Linked DNA regions of Homo sapiens: region 1 is linked to region 2. The links are contacts of gene promoters, found by promoter capture Hi-C in blood cells and fetal thymus (Javierre and others, 2016). All regions are on one chromosome and are shown on one strand. The core of a region is centred on a gene start or on the middle of the fragment in contact, and the rest is flanking DNA. Distances in the headings are between cores, read along the strand shown. Region 1 holds the start of UHMK1 (U2AF homology motif kinase 1). Region 2 holds the start of DUSP23 (dual specificity phosphatase 23).

Region 1 (3,390 bases), core at 509-3,008, 2.7 Mb before region 2:
TGGTGAAGTTTACCTTCCATTCCTGAGATCTGACTGTATGTTTCAGTTTCATTCCTGAGAACATTTCCAGTAAAATGATTCCTAGGCTCCACAGATCAACAGCTGAGGTACATTCTGTATCACTCTGCAGGCCAGCCTGGGCCAAGCAATTTTGCAATTCTGCTTCTGGAGCCCGATACCCGTCTGTCTGAATATACTTTACATCCTAAAAAAGATGAGTAAATATTACAACCAATAAAAAAGCTGCTCCCTTTCTATCCATCTCTACAGTGAATTTACTTCCCTAAGAGTGCAGTAAACCCACTGCCAAGCTAAATGCTAAAAATTTTTAGTCCTTGATTACCATAATTCTTTGGTTCATTAACTGGGCAGTTCTCAGAGGCAAGCTGTACATTTCCATATAGCGCTCATAAAGAAGTCTTCTTTGGATTGTCTCTTACCTATTAGGCACTGCTGATAATAAGGACACTGCAAAGAAATGATAAACCATGGAGAAAAGAGGATTTGGCAGAACTATCATATGCATTCTGCCACGAGATACAGCCCCAACACTGAAGAGACCAGGAATAGTAACTCAGCAATTAGCCAAACACGCATAAAATTTAAAAAACCATTCTATGTAGGTTAAGTACTTTTAATAATTCCAGAGCTCTCATGCTTCACTGGCTCCTCCTACCTGACCCAAACATTATGTCCTTTTTTTACACGGTGGCACTGAAATTCTTTTGATTTACTGCATCCCCTGGCATTTCAGTAATTTAGGTTAAAATGACTTGTAAGCCCCTACTAAACTACCCTTGTCATTTAAAAATATTTGGCTTCAACCACTACATTTTAAACTGCGAGAGAAAAGAAAAGGTTATTTCTTACCTGATTGCCTTCTTTGAAGCTAAGTCCAAAGTCAATGAGTTTAAAACATTCATTCTCTGCACTCCACAATATGTTACGTGGTTTGAGGTCCGCATGGACATAGCCCTCATGATGAAGAAAAGCAAGGGCCTCCAAAACATCTCGGGCACAATGCTGTATCATCCACATGGAACAACCCTGGTGACTGGAATATAAGAGCAATTCCGAAACACTGACATCCAGGAGTTCAAGCAACAGACAGCGTGATGGCACATTTGGAGAAAAGTGGATTGTAAACACTCCATACAAAGTCACTAGAAAAAGAAATTATAATACTTTAAAAATCAGACTCAGAGTAAGTCACTACTAAAGTAGGTAACTGCAGTACAAATTTGAGATAGTCTAGATAAGGATAACTTTGATGAGCAAGCTTCCACTGTAATTTATTTTTCCCATGAATAAGATCTTTTGGCAATTGGGTTATTTTAATAAAAATAAGATGAGACAGCCTACAACAGCTGATTACCATTCACAGATACTAAATATGGTACAATTATTCAATTTGTGTTTCACCAAGTACTCATTGGTGATGAACACGAACTTGGAGTGCCAAGCAAAAATGATTAAAAGTAAAAAACCTAAATATAAATAAATAAAACTTACTGTTGCATCATGAGGTCCTTTAAAAAAAAAGAAATTTTTAAAAGTAAAAACCCAAATATTAAGTAACTCTTTTAAAAGGAATGTCACAATGCGCAAAAACCAAACTAAACATTGCTTCTTCATCCAAAACAGCAGTCTAGGTCTGCCACGGTGGCTCATGCCCGTGATCCCAGCATTCTGAGAGACCGAGGCAGGAGGACTGCTTGAGCCCAGGAGTTTGGAGACCAGCCTGGGTAACAAAAGGGGACCTCTTCTCTACAAAAAATTAGCCAGGCTTGGTGCTACGTGCCTGTAGTCCCAGCTACCTGGGAGGCTGAGGTAGGAGCATGGCTTTAGGAGGAATTGGAGGCTGGAGTGAACTGTGATCTCGCCATTGTACTCCAGCCTGGGTGACAGAGTAAGAACTTGTCTCAAAAAAAAAAACTAAAACAAAAATAAACAGCTCTCTATAATCTAAATACTAACAAAGAGATTAAGACTTTTCGGATGAAATTTTAATCTTGCAGAGATCAGGCAAGTCCCTAGGCTTGCAAAATTTTTCCCTTTTCAATACCAAGGTTATAGTAACAGACCATTTAGTAAACTAAAAAAATGTAGCACTAGTGTTAATTCTTCTCCAAAATGATATTATAAAAAAACTCACTCTTCAAATTAACTATGCATCATACTTGCTAGGAAATAAGACTTTTCTTTAATAACCAAAGCTATAACTAATGATAAGCTTTCTGTCGTGTAATGAAAATGAAACCTTTTCACAGATCAATCATCAGTGATCATTACATATCTTACATTCTGAGTATCTGATTCTTGAAACAGTCTCAAGAGAGCAAAGGTATAGTGTTCCTAAATTTCACACTTCTATAAAGGCTCCCATGGAATAGTGCATCATTTCTTCCAAATCCGTACTAAAGATATAATAGGTGAGCTATACGAGTTACTAGCATTGATGTCACAAGGCCCAGACGTAGTTCCCATTTTCTACTGGTATGCAAAGATTCAAAAATTTCCACACAAGACACGACAATCTAGCAAAGACATGCCTCCTCTCACTAGAAAAGATATTTCTGTATGCTAATGAATGCGGCATTCTCCGATGAGACTCGAAGCAAGACAATTTACTGAGCATCTATGTGACACCTGGCAAAGCAGACCACCAACTCCACTATACCGCAGACAGTAATAAAGTGAAAGGGGAAAGGGGCCTGGATGGGGTGATAAAGAGGGCTAAACCCGCTTCTCCCGCAGAAGGGGAGGAAGATGGAACGCCAGACAGCGAGAGGAAGAGTGTGCTCGGACTGTGACCTGGGCAAGAAGAGAAAGGAGACAGCGGCAATTACCGATGTTTCTGTGACCCTGCAACTGTTCCAGCGCCGCCCTCTCTTTGCGGAAACCATACTCGGCGGCAGAGGCCGCAGCCCCGGTGGTTCCTGGCGGCAAGAACTGCTTGAGGGCGCCGGGGGGCGAGCCAGGGTTGCCGCAGCAGCGAACCCGATACACCGAGGCGGAGGAGCCGCTACCCAGACGGCTCTGTACCTGCCACAGCCGCCCGAAGGCCTCCAGAAAACGCGGCGGCTCCGCGCCCCAGGCGCAGCCGGATCCCGCCATCGGTGTGGGTTAAGGGCACGGACACGGGAGCTGACGCGACGCCTGAGGCAGGCCGGCCGGGCCCGCGGTCACATCTCCGCCAGCCGGACCAGCGGCTCCGCAGGGAGGGACCTGCAGCCGCCTCACCGACTCCCGGGACTTCAAGCAGCCATGACACCGGAAGCCGTGGTGCACCCGAGTCCCAGAAGCCGGAAATGGAGGAAGAGCCTATCATACAGGCCGAAGGAGGGGGGGCTCAGAAGGGGCGGGGCCTAGAAGAGATTAGACGCGCTA
Region 2 (3,699 bases), core at 226-2,725:
AGAGGGTTTAATACTTTAGTCCACTTCCCTTCATCTCTGGCCCCATCGACAACATGGGGAAGGGGAGTGAGGGCCTGGTAGAAGGGTACTAAGGCCCCTTATTTCGTTCGCTGGTAGAACTGGAAGACTGCTTTCTCCTGCTCATAGGTCTCGATGGAGCCGGGTCGTAGTCGTCGGATTTCAGCAATGGCATCTCCTGCAGCCAAGCCCCGCTCCTTCACCAGGTAACAGGCCAGCATGGTGCCAGTGCGGCCAAAGCCCAGAGCACAGTGCACTCCCACAGCCTACGAAGAGGGGGCTCGATGGGTGCCACTCAACTCCCCCACCCACAACTGTTTCCTGCCCCTCACTTGGTTCTCCCCACAGCTCCTTCTTCTGTGCCAGGTCCAGGGCTCTGCAGCAAAGTCAGGGAGGGCTGTCCCTGCACTAGGTGGCTAGGAGGCCTCTGCACTGGCTGGTTCAAGAGCTGTCCACCTCTACACAGCCCTCCACCTGTGGTGTTCAATACAGAAGACAGTAGCCACGGCTACTGTGGCTACTGTACTCGAAATGTGGCTAGTCCAAACTGAGATGTAGTGTGAAAAACGCAACAGGGTATGAAGAGGTAGTAGAAAAAAGAATGAAAATATCTCATTAAGATCACCAAAGTTAATTTTATCTGCTTCCCTGCTTTTTAAGAATGCCGTTGCTAGAAAAATTAACATTACATGGAGCCACTTAGGTTCCATTATATTTGGACAGCTTTACTCTAGAAAATGGTAAACAGCCTCCACCTGACTTCAACCCCCACCTCTCCCAGGTGTCTGTCCACACCCTTCTCCTTCACAACTCACAGTATTAGCTGGTTTTCACTGCCTCTCCTCAAGCCCAGTTCGCACTGCTTCGCCCTCTCTTTAGTTCCTTCCGTTTAGCGCTTCCCTCCCCCGCACTGGCTTCCCAGTCTCCCGGCCCTACTGTCTGCCTCCCCGAGCCCAGTTAAGTTATCCCAGGCCCGGTCTCCCCAGCTCCGCCCGTGTCCCCCGCTGACCTTCCAGGCCCCTCCCTCCCTGCGCTGACCCCGCCCGCTGACCTCTCCCCGTGCGTTGGCCTCGTCCACGATCTGCACGAAGCGGTCGATCTGGTCGGGGGCCGGCGGGCAGAAGTCGGGGATGCGCAGGCGGTGCAGGGTGAGGCCGGGGCAGCTGTCGCTGTGAGGGGGCCCGCGCTCCGTCAGGGACACCAGGTGCCGCACGCCCAGGTCCAACAGGAACTGGTAGTGGGCGGGGAGCCGCGGCAGCGCCAGTCCCGCCAGCCGGCCCGGAAGCACCCAGGAGAAGTTGGGGGGCTGCACGCCCATCGCTGGGAAAGGGCACAGGACAGCGGGTCATGGGGGCCGAGGCTGGCCAGCCCCGCTCCGCCCACGCGTCCCCTCGCCCGCTCCGAGCCAAGTAACTCACCACCTACCTGGCCTCGGCGCCTCCCGGGCCACGTGGTCTGCAGGGCGCCGCCCTCGGGTCGCTCTGCCCAGCCGCGGGGATTGGCCCAGAACCTGGGGCGGGGCTGGAACGCGGAACCCAGTCTCTGAGCGACCGAGGGAAGCGCCGCGATCCCGCCCCGTCCGAGCAGATCACGCGGTGATTGGCTGGATCATCATAATGGGCGGGGGGTTACTTCCACGGGGTTCAACCCACTCAGCTAAGAAGGAAGACCTGGAGCGAGTTAGGAATTGTTTGCTGCGGATGGAACAACCCGGGGTCGGGCTCTGCTGCACCCTGGCGGCATGTTGCAGTCATTGCGTCACTGGCGCCTGCCCCTGCCTCCTCGCGGGCCGGCCTAGTTCTACCTCCTTCACGCTGGATGCCCTGGGGTTTAAGAGATGACAAATCGGCTTTCTCCCAGGACGAGGAGTCTCCTCTCTAATGATTGACTGGTCGTTATCAGCGACTTTTTGAACTGTTCCAGTAAGAGGGAATTACTGCTGCAAGGAGGCTATTCTCATTTTTTCATTGCTGGAACTATTAAAAACTTACCCAGGGTAATAATTATAGTAATAATAATAACCAGCACCAACTTCTCCTGTCAATCCAGTTGCTCCTCAGGACTTATTGAGCATTTATTATGTGCTAGATAGTCTTCTAAGCACTTAGCACATACTGACTCATTTAATTGCCACAGTAATCTTATAAGATAGGTGATCTAGTGAATCCCATTTTATGGATGAAAAAACAGAGGCACTGGAGAGGTTAATAAACTTGACCAAAGGATGATGACTAATGCCTCCAAAATCTTTAATAATATCGCCATTTCCTAAAGTTAAATGGAACATTGTTTTCTCTTCACATAACCCCCTCATGTCCCCAAATATTATCTGGGTTAAACGCTTGTGGGTTTTCTTAATTTTTATTAGTATTTCATATTTCTTCATTTTTCAAGGTTTCCTAGTTCTCTGGGTCACTGTCCCCTGGGCAGGCTAGAGTTGATTAGTGTTGTTCTTACTAGGTGGGGGCCCCTAGATCTGAACACCGTTTCCACTGTCATCTGACCAGTCCATATCCTCATTTGAATAATGTGCTTCTAGCGATGCAGACTAACTGTAATTATGAAAATAGTTAACCCTTATTGAATTTGTTTATGTACCAGGCCCTGTGCCAAGCGCTTTCTGGAAGAACCACATGTGAAAGGTATTTTTGTATCTTTTTTTGTACATGAATCATTGGAAGCTTAAAGAAGTTGGTTAACTTGGCCAAGGACACAGTGATCCAAGCCCAGGGCACTTGGCCATGAGGATGTATTATATTTCCTTCCCTTTGCACCCACCTATGACACACGTCTGACCATTTAAGCCTTTGGCTTCAGCAAGATGGAAAGCAATTTGTCTTCTCCTAAAGATCAAAGCCTGCTCTGACCCTGTGGGAAATACACTTACCATTTACCCAGACAATTACTTTCCCCAGGTTCCAGGAGGTGCCAAATCTCCCCTTTTTCTCCTTCCAGACAATCACAGCCCTCATTAAGCCCTTCCTGTTTGCACTCTCATTTCCTACATAAATTCCTATCAAGGTTACCAGCCCTCCCCAGTTTATTCCTTTCTCTCTTTCCCAGCCATGGCCTCTCAGCCACCAGTCACCTCTTCCCCCAACCCCCTGACCTCCCACTTCTCTTCTCAATTCAACTGCTCTTCAGGATTTCTGGTTGCACTACCTCTGGAGACAAGACTCTAGCATTTGTTCTTGTAAGTTAATCTTTTCTTAGTCCCTTTGCCTTGTTCTCCTTTCTTTGCTTCCCCTACTCACCAGGGAAGTTTCCACTTCACTCCCTACCCTCCTATGTGCTCCTTCTTTGCCTCCTTGATATCCAGCTCGAAGCCCATATTCTCCAGAAAGAGAAAATTTTTTTGGGAGACCGAGATCTTCCTCTTCCCTGAGTCCCCTACCAATGATTCTCTCCCTCTTGTGGGTTTCTGCAGGGCTAGCAGTGCATCCATCAAACCATTAGGGCCTCCATGTGGAGAGGCCAGTTGGCTCCCTTTTTAGGAAGCTCTGCCCTTCCCTTCCAGCAGACCCAGAGTGGAAAGGGCCCAGGGTCCCTGCCTTAAGCTTTGTCAAGGGTGCCATATGTCAAGGGTGCCATATGATGTTTTGTCTTGGGCCCAAGGGGCCTCAAACTGTAAGGAAAAACCCTCTCTGATGGTTTCCTGGCTCAGACTTCTGCAATTAACAG

What was found. The method cuts DNA at HindIII sites, captures the fragments that hold promoters and counts their contacts. A CHiCAGO score of 5 or more calls a contact.
Region 1: a contact is called between a fragment that was not itself captured here and the fragment with the promoter of DUSP23 in region 2, in 2 of 17 cell types (total CD8 T cells and naive CD4 T cells). The highest score is 5.6, in total CD8 T cells.

The regions. Positions count from the first base shown.
Region 1 is chr1:162,497,728-162,501,117 of GRCh38, reverse strand. It overlaps UHMK1 (U2AF homology motif kinase 1), which reads right to left and starts at 3,300. Exons shown (of 8, transcript NM_175866.5): 1 at 2,850-3,300; 2 at 871-1,163; 3 at 14-205. The coding sequence starts at 3,117. RefSeq lists enhancers at 2,563-3,063, 3,250-3,329, 3,064-3,390. The HindIII fragment of the contact is 954 bases long and covers 1,282-2,235 here.
Region 2 is chr1:159,778,738-159,782,436 of GRCh38, reverse strand. DUSP23 (dual specificity phosphatase 23) reads right to left here and starts at 1,475. Exons shown (of 2, transcript NM_001319658.2): 1 at 1,070-1,475; 2 at 1-284. The coding sequence starts at 1,336. The coding sequence ends at 99. LOC101928264 (a long non-coding RNA gene) reads left to right here and starts at 3,056. Exons shown (of 3, transcript XR_922193.3): 1 at 3,056-3,211. RefSeq lists an enhancer at 583-1,159 and a silencer at 1,151-1,540. The HindIII fragment of the contact is 4,062 bases long and covers 1-2,701 here.